2 separate regions of the Homo sapiens genome follow, and region 2 is linked to region 1. The links are contacts of gene promoters, found by promoter capture Hi-C in human tissues and cell types (Jung and others, 2019). All regions are on one chromosome and are shown on one strand. Each heading gives the region's core, a stretch centred on a gene start or on the middle of the fragment in contact. The rest is flanking DNA. Distances are from core to core; before and after follow the strand shown.

Region 1 (6,238 bases), core at 1-2,500:
GAGCTCAGGAGTACAAGAACAGCCTGGGCAACACAGTGAGACCTCCTCTCTACAAAAAATACAAAAATTGGCCAGGCGTGGCCAATAATACCACCTTCTTGGGAGGCTGACGTGGGAGGATCGCTTGAGCACGGGAGGCGGAGGCTGCAGTAGCTGAGATGCTGCCCACTGCACTCCAGCCTGGGCGACAGAGCGACACCCTGTCTCAAACAACAATAAAATAAATAAATGCCTGGCTCAGTTGACACTCTTCCTCTTCCGCCCCAACACTGATGGGACCCGGACAGTTCTGAGCCCTGCCTGAATGCTGCTGCCCCATCTCTATGACCGCGGGAACTGTCTAGATTTCACACCCAGTGTCAAACATGCCCTCGGCCAAAGTCGGAATTGAGTCTGGGTCACCCGTCCAAGACGCTGGTCCCTGCTCCACCGCTGCTACTACAAAGGGACTGAGTCTAGCTTCCAGCCAGGCCTTCGGGAGGCACTCCAGGCGGGGACTAAGCGCAGTCTCGCCAGGCTGCAGAACCAGTGGCCAGCAAAGGCGGCCCCCGCCGGAGCCCTGGATTCAATTTGCTGTTGTTCATTCCGAGAAATTCGGAGACTGGGGCCACGCTGGCTTTCCCGGCGCGGGCGCGCGGGTGGGGGAGGTGGCGCAGCCGAGGTTACCGGCTTCACGGAGGGGCACCGAGTGTCCTCTCCCGGAGAGGGGTGTCCCGGCGGCCAGGACGCCAGGAGGGGTGCCCCCCGTCTTCCTGCTGCTGCCCAGCTCCTGTCTGGAACTCCTGGCCGCCCATCCCAGCCCCGCTGCGGGCTCCCAGCGGGCCCCTCTAGCCCTGGGCACCCCGCAAGACCCCCACCTGGGGCACCCGCAGGTTCCCACCTGATCTGAGCACTCCGCATATCCCACCCACCAGGAGCACCCCGCAGATTCCCACCCACTCTGAGCACCCGGCAGATTCCCCCCACCCCACGATCCGGGAGTCCCCCAGCCCCCACATGCTGCGGCTGCGCCCGCGTCCCGCCGCGGAGGCCCAGGCCCGGCTCACCTGGCGGGGCCGCGGCGGCGGCGGCGAAGACTCCGAGCAGCAGCAGCAGCGACCACAGCAGCGTCGGTCGCATGGCCCCGGGCGCTCGGCGGCGGCTCAGGTCGCGGCCGGGGCCCCGCTCGGGGTCCGCGGAGCCGCTCACGTCGCCGCCCAAACCGCCATGGCGAGCGCAGGGCGCGCAGGGCCCGCCTCTTCCCGAGCAGCAGCGGGGCGTCCCGGTGGAGGGGATTCGGCTCGGCCGCCCGCGCCCCCGCCCCCGCCCCGTCCCGCCCCCGAGGCCACCGCCCCCGCGCGGGACTTTCCCGCTCCGGGAACCGCGGCCCTGGGGGGCCTCTGCGGCTGCAGCGCGGGGACCCCACGCAGCCGGCCTCCCAGAGCGCGGAGCCTCCCGGAACGTCCTGGAGACTGGAGCCCCGCGGGACGCCCACCTTCGGGGGCCGCGATCCTTCCGGAAGGGCCCCGCGAGACCCCGGCCCAGACCCCCGGGCTTTCCCTGGAGCCCCCACCCCTCCTGACCCCCCCCAACTCTCCTCTCGGGTGCTTGATCGCACAATTCGAGGATTCGCCCCTTTAGTCGAAATGTTTGCTTTAATAGCCCCCAAAGTACATATTAAGCTTTCAACTCTCCCCCGCCCCCCTCCCCTTTTTTTTGAGACGGAGTCACCAGGCTGGAGTGCAGTGGGGCGATCTCGGCTCACTGCAACCTCCGCCTCCAGTCAACCCCATTTTGAAAAGGGTTTTAAGGGGAAGGAGTTAGAAAGGGCCCAGTGAAGGAGGAGGTGGGGCTCTGGGGGTGGGGGGAATGGCCTCCGAGCAGGGGGAGGGAGAGACAGAAACTTCCAGCATTTCTAAATGGCGTGGGGTTTGCCCTGGAGCCGGCGGCGGTGCACGAGTAGGAAGTCCTTTAGCAGCTGGGCAGCCGCAGGCCCGCTCCCCAGCCCGAGCCTGCACCATGTCGTTTGACGCCTGTTGGGAGAGGGTTTTAAATCTGCCCTGTTCTTCCAAGATGCGTCATAAAGCTAGCGCAGCAAAGGAGGGACGCGGTGCAGGGAGACCAAGAATTTAAAAACAGGTCGTCCCGGGAGCCCACTGGACACGTTAGCAAAAATGGGTTTTGCAACATAGAGCTTTTCTTTTGCTCTTCCCACATTCTTGCATTTCCTCTTTGTAGAACTATTTTGAAATTGGCCACGCTCGTGAAAATACGTGATGAAATACCTCGCAGACAATTGAATTATGCATTGGATATTTCTAGATACAGAGATGTATTTATATGTTACACGAAAAAAGCGGGCGATAACTTGGAATCACTTCAAAAAGTATGCACTGATGCCAGGCGCGGTGGCTCACGCCTGTAATCTCAGCACTTTAGGAGGCCGAGGTGGGCGGATCACATGAGGCCAGGAGTTGGAGACCAGCCTGGCCAATATGGCTGAAACCCGTCTCTACTAAAAATACAAAAATTAGTCAGGCGTGGTGGCCGGCGCCTGTAATCCCAGCTACTTGGAGGGCTAAGACAGGAGAATCACTTGAACCCGGGAGGCGGAGGTTGTAGTGAGCGGAGATTGCGCCACTGCACCCCGGCCTGGGTGACAGACCGAGACTCCGTCTCAAAAAAAAAAAAAAAAAAAAAAAAAAAAAAAAAAAAAAAAGGCACTGAAAATGACAGGATTGCAAGAAGGATTCTGTTTTCAAACAAATAAATAAAATTACAAGAAAACGACTGGGTGAAAGATGCCAACATTCTAACAAGAAATCGGTTACAGGATCACACAAGTGTCATCCGCCTCAGGGGATGTAACCGAATGCTGGTTCAGTCGCTGGCTGCTTGCAGAGTCTAACAAGAGCAAGATGTGGTGGAAAGAAAGTGACTTTATTTCCAAAGCTAGCAAGGGGAAGTGGTTGGATTCCTATCCCCAAAGCAATCACGTTGAATTGTGGGGTATGGGGAGTGGGAAAGGCAAGGGTTATTTATTTTATTTATTTATTTATTTATTTATTTATTTATTTATTTATTTATTTGAGACAGAGTCTCCGTCACCCAGGCTGGAGTGCAGTGGTGTGATCTCCGCTCACTGCAAGCTCCGCCTTCTGGGTTCACACCATTCTCCTGCCTCAGCCTCCCGAGTAGCTGGGACTGCAGGCGCACGCCACCACACCCGGCTAATTTTTTGTGTTTTTTGTAGAGATGGGTTTTCACCGTGTTAGCCAGGTTGGTCTCGATCTCCTGACCTCGTGATCTGCCTGCCTCGGCCTCCCAAAGTGCTGGGATTACAGGCGTGAGCCACCGCGCCCGGCCAAGGCAAGGGTTTAAAACGGGAAAACGATGTGGAAGTCAGGCAAGGATTATGCTAAGTACACTGTCTGTTTGTCTTGTTCCGGTGGCTGTCTTGGGTCCTAGTCCACAGGAAGCCTGTGGTCTGGCATCATCTCAACAATGGCTGGATTCTTAATTAGACGCCTTGAGGTCACATGTGGAATTTTGCAGAAGAATCTCCAGGCTTGGTCTGTCTGTCTCAAGATTAGCGTCTGGAACCTCTAAGAAGGCACGTAACTAGACACGGGCATACAGTTAGATAAATGTGAAGGGAGTTTATACGGTGAAGAAGGGAGGGACATGGAGTCCATTTTAAGGCTAAGGGAAAAGGCTTCTGCAGTTTGTTTCAAGGTTACATCTTTGATGGCTGGGTGCGGTGGCTCACGCCTCTAATCCCAGCGCTTTGGGAGGCTGAGCCAGGTGGATCACCTGAGATCAGGAGTTCAAGACCAGCCTGGCCAACATGGTGAAACTCGTCTCTACTAAAAATACAAAAATTAGCCAGGCGTGGTGGCATGTGCCTGTAATCCCTGCTACTTGGGAGGCTGAGACAGGAGAATCACATGAACCCAGGAGGTGGAGGTTGCCGTGAGCTGAGATCATGCTGCTGCACTCTAGCCTGAGCCACAGAGCAAGACTCTGTCTCAAAAAAAAAAAAAAAATTGTAACCTGTATATCATTCTAAAGAAATACTTTTGGCCAGATGTGGTGGCTCACACCTGTAATTCCAGCACTTTGGGAGGCCGAGGTGGGTGGATCACCTGAGGTCAGGAGTTCAAGACCAGCCTGGCCAACATGGTGAAACCCCATCTCTACTAAAAATAGAAAAATTAGCCAGGCATAGTGGCAGGTGCCTGTAATCCCAGCTACTTGGGAGGCTGAGGCATGACAATTGCTTGAACCTGGGAGATGGAGGTTGCAGTGAGCTGAGACAGCACCACTGCACTCCAGCCTGAGTGCAGAGTAAGGCTCCATCTCAAAAAAAAAAAAAAAAGAAAAGAAAAAGAAATACTTTTGTGCCTAATTTTATAGTGAGTTGTGTATTTGTTTATAAAGAGGGCTCCATCTATTATATACACTTCAGCCCTACAAACCCTGAATCTGCACCATCCCTTTCCATTAATTCCTTACCTTGTAATCAGTTGATCTTCCTGAAGCATTTCTAATAGCCTAGAGGGACTCCTCTCACCTCCCTCAGGAGAGTGGGTGGGGGATGGCAGAAAGAAGCCAACATTTTTTGCTGGCCAGTGGTGCTTCTCTAGGTATTATAACACTCAGACCTCCCAGTTAGGCAGGCGATGGCTGTCCCATGGGGACACTAGCAGAGTTCAGTGACTTGGCCTGTGGTGGGTTTGCACTGCAGTAGGTCTGCTAAACTGTAACTGCATTTCCTAGAATTCCCCTCCCTGAAAAGTTCTGAGGTAACATGGGCAGGGAAGGATGTTTGTGTGTGTCTTGGTCCATTTTCTGTTGCTTATAACAGAATATCTGAAGCTGGGTAATTGATAAAGAAAAGGCATTTATTTCTTACATTTTGGGAGGCTGAGAAGTCCAAGGTCTAGGGACTAAATCTGGTGAGGGCCTTCTTGCTGGTGGAGATTCTCTGCAGAGTCATGAGGTGGTCAGGGCATCACATGGCAAGGGGGGCTGAGGGTGCTAAGGTGCTCGGATTTATCTTCCTCTTTTTTTTTTTTTTCTTTTGAGATGGAGTATCACTCTGTTGCCTAGGCTGGAGTGCAATGGTGCAATCTTGGCTCACTGCAACCTCTGCCTCCTGGGTTCAAGCAATTTTCCTGCCTCAGCCTCCCAAGTAGCTGGGATTACAGGCACCTGCCACCACACCCGGCTAATTTTTGTATTTTTAGTAGAGTTGGTGTTTCACCTGTTGCCCTGGTCTTGAACTACTGACCTCAAGTGATCCACCTGCCTCGGCCTCCCAAAGTGTTGGGATTACAGGAGTGAGCCACCATGCCCATCCCCTCTTTTATAAAGCCACCAGCCCCACTCCCATGATAACCATTGGTCCATGAACCCATTAGTCCATGAATGAATCCACCCATCCATGAGGGCAGGATCACCATAACCAATCACCTCTGAAAGGCCTCATTCCTCCATACTGCCATATTGGGAATCAAATTTCCAGCACGTGAAATTTGGGGACACATTCAAACCCTAGCAATGTGCGAGACTTGGAAGATGGAAGGAAAGGTGCAGCCATATTCCTTTACCCTTGGGAGGCTGGGGCAGGGCACAAGGCATCCATCTTTGCAGCTCCCGACCTGTGGCTTCTCTGCTGATGTCCTAGATGGCAGGGATGCAGACAGGCTCCAGGCTCCTCCAGCTCCCCGTGGATCTCATGTGGTCGTGTAAGCTGGAGGTGTGGAGATGGAGAGCAGGGTGAGGAGGGTGGCAGCTGAGCCTTAGATTTCAGCTTGTCCCTGCTTCCTCCATCTCTTGTCCACCTTCTCTTCCCGGCCTCCTGCCCTGAGGACTTCAGGCTCCAGCACCGGACAGGGGAAAATTGTCTCTCCTGGACTGTGCACACATCTCTCATGTTTATGTGAGGTCAAATCTCTGTAATATAACAACACACACACACACACACACACACACACACGCACACACACACACACACACATCACATCACATGATGGTTTTGCTTGTTGGATCAAAATCTGGCTGAGCATGCCCCAAATCACACAGCCAATGAGTGGCAGTGTGGGCTCCTAGCCAGGCCTGTCTAGTGCCAAAGCCCCCTGCATTTCACAGCAAACTTCTCATCATGCTGTTCAGTTTTCTCGTAATGAGACCCAGCTCTGTGCCCAGTCAAGCGCTCCACAGCTCCCCATGACCCGGCTATTCCATCAGTGAGTCT
Region 2 (6,238 bases), core at 2,464-4,963, 660 kb after region 1:
TTATGTGCCAGGCATTTTCAGAAGGATCCCAAATAAAAGTCTTCATTTCCCACCATTGGCTATAATTGTTTGGAATTATATCAATTGCACACCATTTGGAACTTAGTTGGAGAAGCTTCTTTCTCTTACTTTTTTTACAGTGAACATTTCTAAACAAAATTTGAAAGACTAGCACAGTGATCATCCACATACCTATCACTCAGATAACAATGCTTATGATTTCACCAAGTTTGCCTGGCTCTTTATACAAGGAGATGTGTGTGTTTGCTGAACCATTTGAAAGTAACTTACAGACCTCATGGCTCTTCACTCCCCAAAATTTCAGAGTGTGTTTCCTCTAAATGAGTATATTTTTCTGTATAATCACAGTATTATTATCTTTTTTCTTTTTGTTAGATGCCTATTCTGATTAAGTATTTCTTTTTTTAGCACAATAAGAAAACAGATTTCTTAATATCATGTCCATATATAATTTTTCTCAATGGCATCCTGGAAAAACCCTTTTTAGGAACTATTTTTATGGGTTATTTTGTGGTTTTTGAAACCAGGATCCACCTAAGGTTCATGCTCTGCATTTGGTTATGACATTTTTAAATCTGGAATAAATGAGTAACCCTAAGTACACATTCACACACCCACCCCTATTGTTCTTTAAATTTTTGAAGAGACCAGGCCACTTCTCTTATAGACTGTCCTATATTCTAGACTGGTCTGTATGTTTCCTCATAGCATTGTTTAACTTGTTCTTTGATCCATTTCTTGTAAACTGGAATTTAGGTCTGAAGGCTTAATTAGATTTAAGTTAAACTTTTTTTTTTTCTTCCCCAAGAATAATTTATACAGGATGCTGTTTCATACTGCTTAAAAGCACATGACAAATGTTAGACTGTCCCCACTATTAGCAATGTTAAGATTGATCTTGCAGTAAAGGTTCTCAGAACTTTATCTCTCCATTGTAAATATTTCCTTTTCCCAAGTAATCTGGGACATCATAAGAGTATCTTATTCTTGGTTGGGCACAGTGGCTCACACCTGTAATCCCAGCACTTTGGGAGGCCGAGGCAGCGGACCACTTGAAGTCAGGAATTCGAGACCAGCCTGGCTCACATGATGAAACTCCATCTCTACTAAAAATACAAAAATTAGTTGGGCATGGTGGCGCATACCTGTAATCCCAGCTACTCAGGAGGCTGAGGCAGGAGAATCACTTGAACCTGGGAGGCAGAGATTGCAGTGAGCTGAGATCGCACCACTTCACTCCAGCCTGGGTGACAGAGTGAGAATCTGTCTCAAAAAAAAAAAAAAAATCTTATTCGCAAATAACTTTTCACTTAAAGTTCCTAGCATCCATTCAGCTGATAGTTGGCTATGTCAGTTATTATAATCACCAACAGAGTTTGAATGAAGCAATGTGATTAGTGACTGATTATGATGCACAGCTGTTAATCTGTGCAGTGATCTGTGAACTAAAAAGCTAGCGGCACAATTACTTATGGCTAATACACCGTAGTAACTGAAATTTGAACCATCTTGTTTGGGAACAGGTTTTATTTAGCCAAACTGTGGTAGAAAAATTGTATATACTGGAACTGCAAAACAAGGACTGGCTGCACTTTAGTTTACATAATAGACAAATTGAAACTTCAATTTATTTTTTTCTTCTAAATTGTGACTAACAATTGGCCCTTTGTTAATGAGCGTATCTTCTGATACTGAAGCTACAAAGAAAACACTGAAAATATTGGACTGTTTTTTTCCTACTTCATACTAATGTATGGTTCTCTGTGGGGTTTTGTTGTTTTTAGATCGAATTTCAAAAGAATCCGGCAAAGTTTTTGAAGATGTCCTTGAAAGTTTCTATTCAATTGACTGTATTAAATCACAGTTTGAAGCATGGCGTTCAAAATACTACACATCCTACAAAGATGCTTACATTGGCCTTTGTTTGCCAAAATTATTCAACCCCCTCATACGACTTCAGCTCCTCACTTGGACTCCTCTTGAGGTGAGTGGCTTCTGTCACTATTAGAAAGTGTTATAATTTGATATCTGGGTAATTTTAATCTCAAAGCTAGAGATGTAAGCTTAAGCAAAATATTTTGCAGGGGTGATAGGGCATAGGCTATAATTGATAGATTGTATCTGGTTATAATCTTATGATCTTTCCTTTTAAGTTTCATGTCTTCCCAGCAGAGCTATGTGTTTTTTTTGTTGTTGTTGTTGTTTTTTCAGTTTACATATAATCCTTTTTTCAGCCAGCTGAAATTATATGCAGTAACACTGGGATATGAACATGAATAGTAAGAACTTGGTCCTTTGATCCTAGAGGAACTCAGAACCAGATGGGAAAGCACAATGAGGCAGGTGTGAAATGAGGACATGACCCAAGTCAGTTGTCATGGTGAGAAAAATTGATAGGCCAGGCATGGTGGCTCATGCTTGTAATCCCAACAGTTTGGGAGGCCAAGGCGGGAGGATTGTTTGAGCTCAGGAGTTCAAGACCAGCCTGGGCAACATAGCAAGACCTTGTCTCTACTTAAAAAAAAAAAAAAAAAATTAGCTGTGGTGGCATGTGCTCATATTCCTAGCTACTTCGGGGGCTGAGGCAGGATTGCTTGAGCCCGGGAGATCAAGGCTGTAATGAGCTATGATTGTGCCACTGCACTGCAGCCTGGGTGATAGAACAAGACCTGCCACAAGAAAAAAAAAAAAAGATAAGGAGGTGGAATCAAGAGGACCTATTGGCCTGTCATATAAGGGAGGGGGCTAGAATTGACTCTGGAGGTCTAGTGGTGATGTTTACAATGTGGTTTTAGAAGTTACCAACGTGGGTGAAGCTGTAGACATGGTTGAGATTGGCTAGGTTGAATTTGTGAACTATAAGGAAAAGGGAGCTGAGGTTGATGCCATGGAAACACAACTGAAAAAAATGTGAGCTCTGAGAAGCATTCAGCTCACAGCTCCTATTTCCTGTGTGCTCTTGGCCAGACCTTCTGAAGTTTTGCTGTGTGCATGAGTGTCTTGGTAGATAGCAAAGGCCCAAGACTGTATTTTGGAGTTATTTTTCTGTGTCCCCCACTCCTCTGCCCCACAGTTTCCAGCTGTGTCAGCCTTCCTGAGCTCCACCCTCTGTCTCCTCCACTCAGCAAAACTGCTCTGCTGTCCTGAACTAGCATCTCACCTCATTTGATTCCTTTCTTTAAAGGGTCATAGTCTTGTGCTGCCTATGGTCCATTGTATTTTGTCCAGTTCTTTTTTATTTTCTTTGGCTTTTAAGTTCCAGGGTACATGTGCAGATTTGTTACATAGGTAAACATGTGACATGGTGGTTTACAGCACAGATCAACCCATCACCTTGGTAGGAAGCCTAGCATCCAGTAGCTGTTGTTGCTCTCCCTCCCCCAAGTCCCCACCCCCACCCCCCAACAGGCCTCAGTGTGTGTTTTTCCCCAGTATGTGTCCATATATTCTCATTGTTCAGCTCCCACTTGCGAGAACATGTGGTGCTTGGGTTTCTGTTCCTGCGTTAGTTTGCTGAGGATAATGGCTTCTAGCTCCATCCATGTCCCTGCAAAGGACATGACCTCGTTCCTTTTTATGGCTGCATAGTATTCCATGGTGTATATGTATAACATTTTCTTTATCCAGTCTATAATTGATGGGCATTTGGGTTGATTCCATGTCTTTGCTATTGTGAATAGTGCTGCAGTGAACATACATATGCATGTAGCTTTATAATAGAATGATTTATATTTCTGTAGGTATATACCCAGTAATGGGATTGCTGGGTCAAATGGCATTTCTGCTTCTAGATCTGTGAGGAATTGGCACACTGTCTTCCTTACACTCCCACCAATAGTGTAAAAGTGTTCCTTTTTCTCTGAAACCTTACCAGCATCTTTTGTTTCTGGACTTTTAAATAATTCCCATTCTGATTGGCATGGGATGGTATCTCATTGTGGTTTAGATTTGCATTTCTCCAATCATCGGTGATGTTGAGCTTTTTTTCATGTTTGTTGGCTACATGAATGTCTTCTTTTGAGAAGTATCTGTTCATGTCCTTTGCCCACTTTTAATGGGGTTGTTTTTTTCCTATAAAGTTTCCTGTAGACTCTGGATATTAGACCTTTGTCAGATGGATAGATTGCAAGAATTTTCTCCCATTCTGTAGGTTGTCTGTTCACTCTGATAATAGTTTCTTTTGCTGCGTAGAAGCTCTTTAGTTGAATTAGATACCATTTGTCAATTTTTGCTTTTGTTGCAGTTGCTTTTGGTGTTTTTGTCGTGAAATCTTTGCCCATGCCGATGTCTTGAATGGTATTGCCTAGATTTTCTTCTAGGATTTTTATAGTTTTGGGGTTTACATTTAAGTCTTTAATCCATCTTGACTTAACTTTTGTATATGGTGTAAGGAAGGAGCCCAGTTTCAATTTTCTGTATATGGCTAGCCAATTCTCCCAACACCATTTATTAAACAGGGAATCTTTTCCCCATTGCTTGTTCGTGTCAGGTTTGTCGGAGATCAGATGGTTGTAGGTGTGCGGTCTTATTGCTGAGTTCTCTATTCTGTTCCATTGGTCTATGTGTCTGTTTTTGTATCAGTACCATGCTGTTTTGGTTACTGTGGCCTTATAGTTTGAAGTCTGGTAGCATGATATCTCCAGCCGTCCAGTTTTTAGTTGTTTGCAACCAAAGGTTAAATCCAGTTCTTGTTTCTCTTATCATAGCTGGAAGCAGAAATAGCCACTATTTTAGTATTTGGGTAACCTTTTAAATGTCTTTTAGGCAAAATGTCGTGACTTTGAGAATATGCTGTGGTTTGAATCTTTGCTGTTTTATGGTTGTGAAGAACGAGAGCAAGAAAAAGATGATGTAGATGTTGCCCTACTACCTACCATTGTGGAAAAGGTGATTCTTCCTAAACTAACAGGTAAATCTCCTGTTCTCTGAATTGAGCATTCAGACACACTGGCTTTCTCAAATCTATTTTTATGAGTTTATAATTCAGAGCATGTTTCCTTATAGAAATTACATGAGAAATAATAGTTACCACCTGGCCCAGAGATGGCTAGAGGGCAGAGGGGTTCTTATCCTGGGACTTGAAGACCACTTTAGGGTGGGCCTGTAGTTGAGTGCAGTAATTGCTTCATAGGTGAGGTTTAGAAATTCAAAGACTGACTGAAGCAAAATTATACAGAGTTTGAGGGAGGAGGATATGCATTTATGTGGGGAGCAATTAAAATGCTTTCATAAGTTCCTCAAAAAAGATTAGGAATCATTGATACAGGAATCTATTTTAAATACTAGAAATGTTAGTTTGAAATTCTTGATGCCAAGACAACATTTCTACAGAAATCCTCTTTTTTCCTAATCTTTATTTTCCCTGAGTACCAGAAATAAGAATAATCTATCCTCTCTCCACATCCCTATCCCTCCAAATTCCCACAGTTAATAGGACAAAGAAGACTAAAGCTTATATTGTAGAAAAAGAGGAAAAATAAATTAGGATTGGCATTAATAGAGGTCTGCTTGACAAAAAATTAAAGGTACAATTGGCTTCTGTGTCTCAATCCTCTTTTTTTCTTAATAGTGATAGCTGAAAATATGTGGGACCCTTTTTCTACAACACAGACTTCAAGAATGGTGGGAATTACACTAAAATTAATCAATGGATATCCTTCAGTAGTGAATGCAGAAAATAAAAATACACAGGTAATTTAGTATCTTTTGAAGCCTTTTTTTTTTTTCCTCTTTCTGTTGAATATGAGCAAGCATTGAGAGAATGAGTGGTTATCCTAAACCAATCAGAAATCTGGTTCTCCCACTTGGGCCATCAGGGCCATTAAAGCCTGAAATACACAAAATTTGAGATGTTAGGTTTTTTTTTTCTTTTTTTTATACCTAGTCCCGCAGAGAGATGTTAGTTTTCAGTTTAAAAAAATCAATATGGAAGGAAGATGTCATCATTTTAAATAGCCTTTCATTATGATTTCTCACCACCACACCTCAGTCCCAATCCAACTAATCAAATGTCCTTTTAAAGACTGTATTTTCTGGGGGGAAATGAGAAACCAAAATGTTAACAATTGATAATTTAAGCTTGTCCAACCCGTGGCCCATGGACATGTGGCCCAGGACGGCTTTGAATGCGGCCCAACACAAATTTGTAAACTGTCTTAATACATGAAATTTATGCACAGACCCCGCCCCCCTCCTTTTTTTTTTTCTTTTTTTTTTT

What was found. The method cuts DNA at HindIII sites, captures the fragments that hold promoters and counts their contacts. A contact is called where the count stands out against the background at its distance.
Region 2: a contact is called between a fragment that was not itself captured here and the fragment with the promoter of IFNGR2 in region 1, in 1 of the 25 tissues and cell types used here (dorsolateral prefrontal cortex).

What each region holds. Positions count from the first base shown.
Region 1 is chr21:33,398,425-33,404,662 of GRCh38, reverse strand. It overlaps IFNGR2 (interferon gamma receptor 2), which reads right to left and starts at 1,250. Exons shown (of 7, transcript NM_005534.4): 1 at 1,047-1,250. The coding sequence starts at 1,119. RefSeq lists cis regulatory regions at 151-651, 1-680, 1,248, 1,525, 1,535 and 2 more, silencers at 682-731, 872-921, 942-1,021, 1,032-1,571 and promoters at 1,126-1,530, 1,125-2,292, 1,664-2,302, 1,146-2,302. The HindIII fragment of the contact is 6,342 bases long and covers 1-4,510 here.
Region 2 is chr21:32,744,266-32,750,503 of GRCh38, reverse strand. PAXBP1 (PAX3 and PAX7 binding protein 1) reads left to right here. Exons shown (of 18, transcript NM_016631.4): 11 at 1,806-2,005; 12 at 4,786-4,930; 13 at 5,591-5,712. Among named protein-coding and RNA genes, the nearest start is that of PAXBP1-AS1, 19 kb to the right of the region's middle. The HindIII fragment of the contact is 5,225 bases long and covers 1,101-6,238 here.